Linked DNA regions of Homo sapiens: region 2 is linked to region 1. The links are contacts of gene promoters, found by promoter capture Hi-C in human tissues and cell types (Jung and others, 2019). All regions are on one chromosome and are shown on one strand. The core of a region is centred on a gene start or on the middle of the fragment in contact, and the rest is flanking DNA. Distances in the headings are between cores, read along the strand shown.

The links. Contacts are between HindIII fragments. The study calls those that stand out against the background at their distance.
Region 2: a fragment that was not itself captured here is called in contact with the fragment with the promoter of AKT1 in region 1 in 1 of the 25 tissues and cell types used here (lymphoblastoid cells).

The regions. Positions count from the first base shown.
Region 1 is chr14:104,793,127-104,798,873 of GRCh38, forward strand. AKT1 (AKT serine/threonine kinase 1) reads right to left here and starts at 2,622. Exons shown (of 15, transcript NM_001382430.1): 1 at 2,358-2,622; 2 at 1-178. RefSeq lists enhancers at 1-447, 448-1,087, 1,088-1,729, 3,771-4,543, 4,544-5,316 and silencers at 1,994-2,313, 2,344-2,393, 2,574-2,933. The HindIII fragment of the contact is 31,557 bases long and covers 1-5,747 here.
Region 2 is chr14:103,654,725-103,660,471 of GRCh38, forward strand. It overlaps KLC1 (kinesin light chain 1), which reads left to right. Exons shown (of 17, transcript NM_001394837.1): 2 at 1-101; 3 at 2,822-3,052. Among named protein-coding and RNA genes, the nearest start is that of KLC1, 28 kb to the left of the region's middle. The HindIII fragment of the contact is 3,897 bases long and covers 854-4,750 here.

The DNA.
Region 1 (5,747 bases), core at 1,372-3,871:
CTGATGCACCAGCTGACAGGCTGCCTCCTCCAGGCAGCCCCTTTGACTTCTTTGACCCAGGCTGGCTCGGCCTTCCCTAAGCCCCTGGTGACAGATGGCCCCGTTTGCTCTCCCTGTCCATGGTGTTCCTACCCATGGATCCTGGGACAGGGCACAGGGCTCCTCCCTGCTCCCCAGACTAGGAAAGCAAAGAAATTCAAACATGAGGAAGACAGGACCAGGATGCAGGCCACTGGCGCAAACGGGAGTCCAGAGCCCTCCAGCGCAAGCCCAAAAACCTCCTGGGAGAAACCCCAGGCCCCTCCTAAACCACAGCGCCCCTGCCGGTCTGAATCTGGTTCATTCATTTGGCCAACATGTACCGGGCGTCTCAGGTTTTGCCAGGCCCAGTGCTGGGCGCTGGAGACAAAGAGAGGTTCAGACAAGTCCGTCAGTGAGGAGCACCCAGTCCAGGGTGGTTACAGACCCATAATTACAGCAGTCGGGAGGCAGCAAGTAAGTGGGGGAGCACTGGACAGGCCCCCGCCCTGCAGCGGCCCACCAGCCAACCCTCACCTGAGCACACTTTATCCATTGATCCTGCATGGCTTCCTCATTTCCCCTCTGATGGATGAACTCCTAGGCATCCCTCAAAACCCAGTTCCCACATCACCAACTACAGGCATCCCCAGAAAGAGCACTTCGCATGCTCTTCCTGTGAGCAGTCCTCTGCTACCCTTCCAGATGGGCCTTCCTGAGGGGAGGAGGGTCCTCTCTGGGACCTCCAGGCCAGGCAGAGACCCCTGACGACCTCTGTGGAATGGATCCCAACATGGGTCTTTCCACAGCCAGCTTAGACGCTCTCCCCCCAGGCCACCTTTCTGGCCTCCCGAGGCAAGGGCTGGACACCCACAAAGGGTTGCTTTGCACTGATTGTCTTAAGCTACACTTAGAATGGCAGGAAGGCCCACTGCCTTGTGTCTAATGCCAGGACAGGGAAGACCACACCTTACCCAAAGAGGGAAATGCCCCAAGTACTTAGCAGGATGGAAAGCAGGCCAGACTCGAGGAAGGCACCGCAGGACTCCGAGGGCAGGGCTCCGAGCCGCGCACGCCTCAGGCACAGGGGGCTCTGACGACACTGAGTGGGCGTGGCCTGGAGGCAGAGGGCTGGACTCAAAGACCTCTGGATGTCCCCCCACCCCCACACGGGCCTGAGCCCCTCCAAGGCCTGCTGCTGACAGAGTCAGACAGCTGTCCAGAGCCATGTGTAAAAATACATCTGTGCTCACACAGGGTGGTGTACGTCTGCACAGAAACGTATACACCAGGCCAGCACAGGGCTGCCTGTGGGGGCGGAGGGACCCCGACTTCCCACAGCCTCCGTACCTGCCGCCTGCCTTTACCATAAGCACATATTCTTGCTACTATTATTAAGTCACAACTTAAAAAAAAATACTCTGTTTTCGAAAGGGCTCCTCCATCTGCCTCCAGAACCCTGGTGTATGAGAAGTCTACACAGCTCCCGGGAGAGGCAACCGGACCCCCACCAACGGACTCCGTCCGCCCTTCGCTCGGATGAGGGACTCAAAGCAGTCAAGAAGTGGCCACCTGGAGCAAGGCCGAGAGACCCAGGAGTGAATGTGGGGCGGCCTCTGGCTGCAGAGCAGGGGCCCAAGCTCACCCGCTGACCAAGGCAGCACTCAGAGGCCGTCCCGACAGGACCAAGCTCGCTAGCGCCCCAGGATACTCAATCTAAGGGGCAAGCCCCAGCTGCCCTCCAAGCCTTGGCCTCTGGGATGGGCGGGCAGGACCTCCAGGGCCCACCCAAGACAGGAAGCAGTTCCGGGGCCCAGGAGGGTCACAGTCCTTTGTGGCTAGCCTGGGTACCCCGCCACCACGTACAACTTTTCGTCCGTGGGAAACGAAGTCTCCTTCCGGGGCCCTCCCACAAACTTGAAGGCCGGCCGCGGCGAGTCTTTCTCCAACCCCGGGGCACCTCCGCCGGCTGCCTCGCTGGCCCAGCGCCCGGGGAGCCCCACGGCCCGCAGGGGCACCCCGAGCCCCAGCTCCAGGCCCGGCGGCGTCCCTTCTCTCGGGTCCCGGCCTCGCCCGGCGGAGCGGCCTCCCCAAGGTCATGAGGGAGGCTGGGGCCGGCAGCCTGCACCCCCGGCGCCCGGCGTGGGGCCGCCCTCCCTTGGCCGGGCCCGCGCGCCCCGCGCCCTCCCCGCCCAGGCCCGCTCGGCCACTTCCTGCTCCCGCTCCTCCATTCTGGCGGCGCCGCGGCTCGCGCCCCGGCCCGACCGGCCGCGAACAAAGCGGCCCGGCCCGCGGGGAGGAAATCCAGGCCCGGGCGGCCACGGCGGGCGGGGACTCACCGGGCCGCCGCGTCCGGGCGCGAGCGCGGGCCTAGCCGGGCCGCGGCCTCCGGCGCCCGCCGCTCCGCATCCCCGCGGGCCGGCGCTGGGCGGGGCCGGGCTGGAGGCCGCGGCGGGCGGGGGCGCTGCTCGGGGCCGGGCCTCGCGTGCCGCCGCCGCTCGGTGCCCGGTGCCCAGCGCTCGGTGCTCGGCCGCCTGCTCCCGTCTTCGGGCCGCGCTGCGTGCGCTGGGCCAGCCGCCTGCCGCGCTCGGTCCTGCCGCCGCCGCCGGCCCGCCCTCTCCCCGCCCCGCGCCCGCCCCGCGCCCGGAGCCGCCCGCCCACATCCGCCTCCGCCGCCCGGGGCGTCCCCACCGCGCGGCCGGCGGCGAGGGCGGAGCGCGCTCGGGGAGCGCGCGGCCGGGCTGAGGGGCAGCTCCCGACGACCTGGGGCCTGGGCTGGGCCGCTAACGGAGCCCGGCCACCAGCCAGCCCGTCCCGGGGCCACGCCCTCTCTGGCCTCAGTTTCCCCGTCTGTAAAGTGACCCGGCGCTTCTGGGCTCGCTCTGCCGTGACCCTAGCAGAAGGGGCCCGAGACAGGTCAGGGACGAATCCCGGACTTCTGCCTCCGCGCGCGGGGCGGGGGTGGCTTAGGTTGACTTTCAGGCTGCCCCACTCTGGGGGGCGTGGAGGGGGCGGCCAAGAGTGACCTAAAAGGCCCAATCCCAAGACCTTGTGCCTCTGGGGGAAGTGCGGGAGGATGCCAGGACAGGAGGTCAGTTGGAGGTGGGCCTCCAAGGAGCAGGAAGGCTCCGAGGGGAGTCAACCATTCACCTAGGTACTGGCAGCTACACTCACAAAAGGGGGACTTTGCTGGGGAGTGGGAGAAGAGGGGCACACCTTGCCTGGCTCCCACCTTGAGCTGGGAGCAGACACCAGACAGAGGAGGAGCGGTGTCTAGGGTGGGCTGTGACAGCTGACAGCCCAGAGCCCTCCCTGCTGGGTGGACTTGGTCAGCCCGGACACCCAGTCCGAAGTCCACTGGGAGGCAGATGGCCCGGGTATGGAATGAGTAAGTGGGACACAGACCCCTTTCTCCTGGACACTCACAGGAGAGTGCAGGTGACTGCCACCCCGACCCCTTCCTAGCCAGAAGTTCCTCCGACAACTGCCCCTCCCCCATTCCAGAGGCCCACAGTTGATAATAACCCTTTTGTGAAAGACAGACTCTTGTGAGTTACCTTCCTGAGGCTGCTAAGTATTGGGGTTGGGGGAGCATTTTTATTTTCAGCCAGAGTGAGTTCAGCTGGCAGCAGGGGAGGGGGTGGGAGGAGATGCAGACAGAGGCAGCAGGTTCGGCCCAGTGCTCAGGACAGAGTCTGCAGCCAAAACTCGGGCTTCATCCCTGCCTCTTGGGGCTGACCAAGAGAAGGACTCTCTCCCCCTGCATGAGGGCACTCGCTCCTCAGACAGGGGACTCCCCATTCCTGCCTCTCGCCTGAGCACCTCTGCTCCCTCCCAGCTCAGACTTTGTAACCCCAGGAAGGGCCCACCTCCAGGGGGCCAAGTCAGAGGCCCAGTGGTCTGCGCCGCTTGGGTGGGATACCTGACACAAGGGTTGCCCCCAGAGCCTGGGCGTCTGGTGTCTGTCTCTCACCCAGCAAACCTGCACCATGAGCCACCTGGGGCTCCCTCTGGGACTGTCCCACCTGCCCACTGCTCCCCGAGGAAGAGTTCCTGGTATCTGTCCACCATCCTGGGCTCTGCCATGCAAGGATGGAGGAAGGAATTCAGGGAGGAAGCAGAGGGTAAGAGGGCCATGAGACAAGGCCAGCAAGTGGCCGAGGCTTGGGGATGTGGGAGGGAGCAGGGCACCCTCTCATGGAAGAGGCAGTGACATTGCGGGCTGTTCTTGAAGTGGTTGGACCTCTTGCTTATTTTGCACTGGCTGTCTCCAAGGAGGCCTCCCAGTCTTCCCAGCCTGGTGCCCTGGCATCTGCTGGTGCCTGCAACCCACTGTGGGCCCCACACTCCAGTCCTGTCTTCACCTTGGCATGAACTGCCCTCCCCCAAGACGGGGATCTCCCAGTGGGCAGGGCCATCTCCCTCTCCTCCAGCGTCCCAGAGGGAAAGCAGAGTCCTCTCTTCAAGAACACCCCCTCCCACCCCAGACAGAATGGTCAGGAGAGAACCCAGCCCCACGGCTGCTGCTGGGACTGCTGAGGTGCTCTGTGGCCAGATGTTTCCGACAAAAACTGCTGCACCAGGGAAGGGCCCGACGGCTGCCTCCTCCCAGAGCTCAGGGGCCTCCTGCCCTGTCACCTTCTGCAGCTGCTGGCCGGGGGCAGGACTCGAGGGCCCTGGGCTGTGTAGGTCCCAGCAGCAGCTGCAGGGCGGGGCCTCAGGGCAGCTCCCAGGCCAGATGGCCGCCTGAGTCTGCAGAGGTTCTGCCTGAACCACCACCGCCGCGACAGTGGCTGTGTGACGGTGTCCTGTCATTCCTGCACTTGAGACCCAGCCAGTCACAGGGGCTCTGAGGACTACAGGCTGGCCAGGATCCCAGCACCAACTCTGGGCGGTCTCTGCCTGGAACAGCCCCCCTTCCCTGATCGGTGTGGGGCAGGAGGGACTTGAACCCAGACATCCCGACCTGAGAGGGATAAGGAGCTTCTCTCCCACTGTCCCCTCCCCTTCATCTAGCCCATTCCTAGCTGGGCCCTCCTTCCAGGTCCTACCCTAGGCTCCTGAAGGCAGCATCCTGACCCTCCCTGTGTACCACAACCCCCATTAAGTGTCCAGGCTCTCTCTGTCCCGCCAGCCAGGCAGGGCAGGCTAGGGTGCTTGCTCCCAGCCTGCAGTGGGGAGCTGTCAGCCTGTTGCCCAGAGCCCCAGTGTGGCAGGCCACCCCTACTTGCTCTGAAGGTTCAGGGGCTGGGGGTGTGGGCAGGCAGGGCTGGAATGTTGCCACAGAGGAGTCAGGATTAGGGATGGTGGGACCATCGTAATCACTCACAGAAGCAACCGTCACACATTCACTCAACAAACATTTACTGAACACCCACTTGCGTCCTGCCAACTTTTAAGCACCAAGTGACCAAACAGCCCCTTCCCTTTCAGAAGGTGCTGGAATATCCCACAATCACAGGACACCCGGAATGGGCTGGAAAGGAGGGTATGCAGCAGAAGGGACTGCGAGGGAACTTAGCGAAGGTGGGCAGGAATGGCCACCCTGACTAAGGAGTGGACTTTCAGCAGAGACAGGGATGAAGAGAAACCAGTGAAGGGTTCTTTGGGGAAGAACATTCCAGAGCCTGAGAGCTTGCTGAGTGCCAGGCCCTGTCGTTAATGTTCACGAAGACCCCGGGATGCACTCTGACTCCCATTTTGCAGATGAGGATTACTGAGGTTCAAAG
Region 2 (5,747 bases), core at 1,552-4,051, 1.1 Mb before region 1:
AGTGTTTGAAGAAAGATGATGAAAGTAATTTGGTGGAGGAGAAATCAAACATGATCCGGAAGTCACTGGAGATGTTGGAGCTCGGCCTGAGTGAGGCACAGGTACGAGTGAGAATGACTCAGACGTTATCAGGAACTTTTGATGGTAAAATGGAGACTTGTTTGAAATAAGCAGTTTCACTAAAGAAGAGGAAAGATGATTATAGAATAACAGATCCAGGCCGAGTGCGGTGTGGCTCAGGCCTGTAATCCAAGCACTTTGGGAGGCTGAGGCAGGTGGATCACTTGAGGTCAGGAGTTTGAGACCAGCCTGGCCAACATAGCGAAACCCTGACTCTACTAAAAATACAAAAATTAGCCGGGCCTGGTGGCTGGCGTGTGTAATCCAGCTACTAGGCAGGCTTGAGGCAGGAGAATCACTTGAACCTGGGAGGCAGAGGTTGCAGGGAGCCAAAATTGCATCACTGCACTCCAGCCTGGGTGACAGAGCGAGACTTTTTCTCAAAGAAAAAACAAAACAAAACAGATCATGTGTTCTGTATGTTAATAAATTACTATTGATTTGGGCCTATCAGAATTGTATTGATTGATTGATTGAGATGGAGTTTTGCTCTTGCTGCCCAGGCTGGAGTGCAGTGATGCAGTCTCGGCTCACTGCATCCTCTGCCTCCTGGGCTCAAATGATTCTCCTGCCTCAGCCTCCCAAGTAGCTGGGATTACAGGCATGGGCCACCACACCTGGCTAATTTTGTATTTTTAGTAGAGACAGGGTTTCTCCATGTTGGTTAGGCTGGTCTTGAACTCCCAACCTCACGTGATCCACCTGCCTCAGCAAAGTGTTGGGATTACAGGCGCGAGCCACCATGCCCGGCCTCTGAATTTTATTTTTATTTTTATTTTTTTGAGACAGTGTTTGCTCTCGCCGCCCAGGCTGGAGTGCAATGGCTCAATCTCAGATCACTGCAACCTCTGTCCCCCGGGTTCAAGTGATTCTCCTGCCTCAGCCTCCCAAGTAGCTGGGATTACAGGCACATACCACCATTCCTGGCTAATTTTTTGTATTTTTAGTAGAAACTAAAATGTTGGCCAGGCTGGTCTTGAACTCCTGACCTCAGGGCCTCTCTGAATTTTGAAAAGCGGATCCAAAATAGTGGATACTGCTGTGTATCATTTAGGATTTGATTTGGCTGCCAGTATCAAAAAAACAAAAACAGTGGCTTAAACCACAAGATGTTTGTCAAATAAGTACTGAGGTACACTCTCCTGGACGGGTTCTGTAGCTACACAGTCATCGGGGATACTCAGGTTCCTAACATCTGCCACACTGCACCTTGGCAGCCTGTCTTGGGGACTGAGAGTGAGCTCCATGTGGCCCTGTTCTAGCATAGGGGAAGGGAAAGGAAGGACGTGCCTCCTTCCTTGAAGGCTGCTGCTTTGATGATGTGTACAGCAGTGCTTACATTGCATTGGCCAGACCTTATGGCTGTACCTGGGTGAGTGGGAGACTGGGGAATGTTGTCTTCCCACTTACAGTGGCAGGTCCTTAAGCCTAAGGAAGGAGAATGGACACTGGCCAGTGGGTGATGGTCTCTGCAATCCCAGGGCCAGATTGCTTCATATCTTTGACTAACCTTTGTTTCTATAATATCATGCTTGACATAGAGATGAAAACACTGGAAACATCTAGGTTTTTAAATACTCTCTCCTGATAACTTCTGGCTCTGTCAGCATATCTTAGGTAAAATTAAATATACCAAAGCTTTGCTTCTTTCTTAGCATTCTCTAGTTTAGTGAGTGAATAGAGCAGAAGAGGGGCTGCTGGCCAGCGGTTTCTGCTTTCATAGAGGAAGTGACTGCCCACACCCTGATTTTAGAGTCTTCATCCTAACCATGTTACAGCCTTGAGTTGCAGAACTGTAGCTCTGTTTGGATATTGTGAACGTATTATTTCTCAAGTTCTGTTACCTTGAGAACAGGTGACATGAATTTAAACTTGCTTTTTTGGTGTCGCAGATAAGAGTTTTAAAAAAAGAAGGAAGAAAAGGTCCCACCTTCTGGAGTTTCAGGTTTTAAACCTAGGAGGATAATAACCTGGTTATTATGTTATGAGAGGGATGGGCAGATGTATGTTCTAAAGAGAGAACAGATTGCTGCCAGCCAGCTCCTAGCTGTTTGTGCTCTTATGCTCCTAGGAACTTGCCACAGCCTCACGCTGGTCTGTTCCAGAAACCAGTGAGCACTCTGTAGGCAGAGCCCTGGAGTGGCCCCTGGATTTTATGACATAAACATAAGCTTATGAGTGCACCAGTGCATTCTTACTCTTGGTGGTAGCTACAGAGATGTCTTCTCTCACCTTGGAACATCAAGGAAGATTTGTATGTGCACTGTTCTCTGACCCCCACTTGCAGCCCTTCACCAACATGCACTCTGTGCGCAGACATGCATGTGTGTACACGAGGTCTTACACATGGGAAAGGGTCTATAAAAAATTATGTTGGGCCCATCTTGATAGAAAGTAAAATAATACAGTTTCATCAGAAGGGTAGCTGTGTTTTCATTGCTAGTTCATTTGGCATGCTCTTCAAAAAAATAAGTATTTTTTTGTAGGCATTCTGAGCGTGTGATATTCTTTATCATACCCTGCTTTGTAGTCTGTGGCTGAAGGGGAAAAGAGAAGTAAATGGCAGATTGTACTTATATGTACTTTGGAGAAAATATCTGCGAGTGTAAGCTACAGCCCCAGCCACAGAATGTTCGCACGGGTGGGAGGGACTCTTGCTGGACAACGTGCCACAGTGCTGCACACGTTTCTGTCTGCTCAGGTTATGATGGCTTTGTCAAATCACCTGAATGCTGTGGAGTCCGAGAAGCAGAAACTGCGTGCGCAGGTTCGTCGTCTGTGCCAGGAGAATCAGTGGCTACGGGATGAACTGGCCAACACGCAGCAGAAACTGCAGAAGAGTGAGCAGTCTGTGGCTCAACTGGAGGAGGAGAAGAAGCATCTGGAGTTTATGAATCAGCTAAAAAAATATGATGACGACATTTCCCCATCCGTGAGTGGCTCTGTAGCAAATGTGGTGCTAATGTTTAAAATGGAGTCACTGGGAAAGTCATAGAGGTTCTGTTTGCCATATTCTTTTCATATTAGAACATATTAGAACATTAGAACATGCAAAAATGTTTTGTAAATATAAGCCACAATCCAGAGAGACACCATTACCTTCAACAAGGTCTGCCCCGAGGTCTGTCCCGAGGTCTGCCCCAGCTTAGGCTCTGGAGCTTCCTTGCCCCTCTGTAGCTTGGCTTCCATGCCATCAGCTGCTGGTCTAGCAGTGGTCCAATCTGGCCGTCTGAATTTGGACTCTGGGCAACCTCTCTGCCCCTTAGGGTGGGTGCTCTTGGCATTGCCATTCTCTTTGAAACTCCCCTGGCCCTCTGGACACCACCTGGCTCTCTTGCCGCCTCTCTCATCCTCCCCTTGGCTTCCCTTGCCAGCTTATCTTTCTGTATCTGCAGGGGAAGAAACGATCTTGGTTTTCTTCTTCTTCTTTTTTTTACAAGGAGTCTCGCTCTGTCACTCAGGCTGGAGTGCAATGGCACAATCTTGGCTTACTGCAACCTCCATCTCCCGGGTTCATGTGATTCTCCTGCCTCAGCCTCTGGAGTAGCTGGGATTACAGGTGTGTGACACCATGCCCAGCTAAGTTTTTTTTTTTTTTTTTTTTTTTTTTAGTAGAGATGAGGTTTCACTGTTTTGGCCAGGCTGGTCTTGAACTCCTGGCCTCAAGTGATCTGCCCACCTCAGCCTCCCAAAGTGCTGGTATTCCAGGTGGGAGCCACCATGCCCAGCCTTCTTTCTCTGTTGGCTCTATTTGGATGTTTATCCTAGTCTCAGTTATTTTTCATTCAACATTTATTTCTGATTCAGTTAACTTTTTTTTTTTTTTTTTTTGAGATGGAGTCTCACTCTGTCACCCAGGCTGGAGTGCAGTGGCACGATCTTGGCTCACTGCAACCTCCACCTCCCGGGCTCCAGCGATTCTCCTGCCTCAGCCTCCCGAGTAGCTGGGACTACAGGTGTGTGCCACCACGCCTGGCCAATTTTTTGTATTTTTAGTAGAGATAGGGTTTCATTGCGTTAGCCAGGATGGTCTTGATCTCCTGACCTTGTGATCTGCCTGCCTCGGCCTCCCAAAGTGCTGGGATTACAGGTGTGAGCCACTGCGCCCAGCCAGTTAACTTCTTTTTATTTTTTTTTTTACTTTTTTTTTGAGACGAAGTCTCGCTTTTGTACCCCAGGCTGGAGTGCAATGGCGCGATCTTGGCTCACTGCAGCCTCCACCTCCTGGGTTCAAGCGATTCTCCCTTCTCAGCCTTCCAAGTAGCTGGGATTACAGGTGCGTACCGCCACGACTGGCTAATTTTTGTATTTTAAGTAGAGATGGGGTTTCACCATGTTGGCCACTCCTGACCTCAGGTCATCCCCCCGCCTCGGCCTCCCAAAGTGCTGGGATTACAGGCGTGAGCCACCACGACCGGCTTCAGTTAACTTCTTTTTAAAGAAAATTTCTAAATTTTGGAATTATTTTATTTTACTTATTTTTAATTTTAAAAATTTTACCCTCCTCTCAAGTTTCCAATGGAATAATTTTAAATTGATTGAAAAGTTGAAAAGTTAGAGAAGAAAATTGATGTGCCCATAACCCAGTCTCCCCTGATCGTCCATAATCATAGAACAGTGGTCAGAACTAAGATATTAACATCAACACTTTACTGTTAACTGAAACACAGACTTGGTTGGATGTCACCAGGCCTTCCACTAGTATCTCTTTTCTGTGCTAGGACCTAGTCCAGTGTTCCACATTGCATTTGGAACTAACGTTTTTTAAATACCTGTATGATGCCAGACATGTTCATGTACATAATCAGAATACTAGAGAGGTGCACATTTGTGTGTCTCGTTCGAATCCCCATCCTAAGACTACTGAAACAGTTTTTTGCGTAGCACCAGCAAACCTGCATTTCCCCTCTGTCTTCATCTGCTTGGGCTACTGTAACAAATACCACGGGCTGGATGGCTTAACATTTATTTTCTCATAGTTCTGGAAGTCCGAGATCAGGGTACCAGCAGGGTCCGGTTCTGGGGAGGGCCTTCTTTCTGGCTTGCAGACTGCTGCCATCTCTTTGTGTTCTCATATGGTACAGAGAGAGAGGGAGTAAGCTCTCTGGTGTCTCTTTTTATGAGGGCACTAATCCCATCATGAGGGCCCCACACTTTCGAGCTCATCTTATCCTGATCACCTCCCAAAGGTTTCATCTCTAAATACCATTACACTGGGGGTTAGGGCTTTAACATAGGAATTTGGGGAGAACACAGTTTAGTTGACAGCATGCTATTTCAAAAGGCTTACCAAAATCCTCCCTCACATCTCCTCTAGGTTAGGGGCCAACTAAATGTTTTGATTTAAAAGATGTGGCTGGGCGCAGTGGCTCATGCCTGTAATCCCAGCCCTTAGGGAGGCCGAGGCAGGCAGATCACCTGAGGTCAGGAGTTGGAGGACAGCCTGGCCAATATAGTGAAACCCTATCTCTACTAAAAATACAAAAATTAGCCAAGCATGGTGGCACATACCTGTAATCCCAGCTACTCAGGAGGCTGAGGCAGGAGAATCGCTTAAACCCAGGAGATGGAGGTTGCAGTGAGCCAAGATCATGCCACCGCACTCCAGTCTAGATGACAGAGTAAAG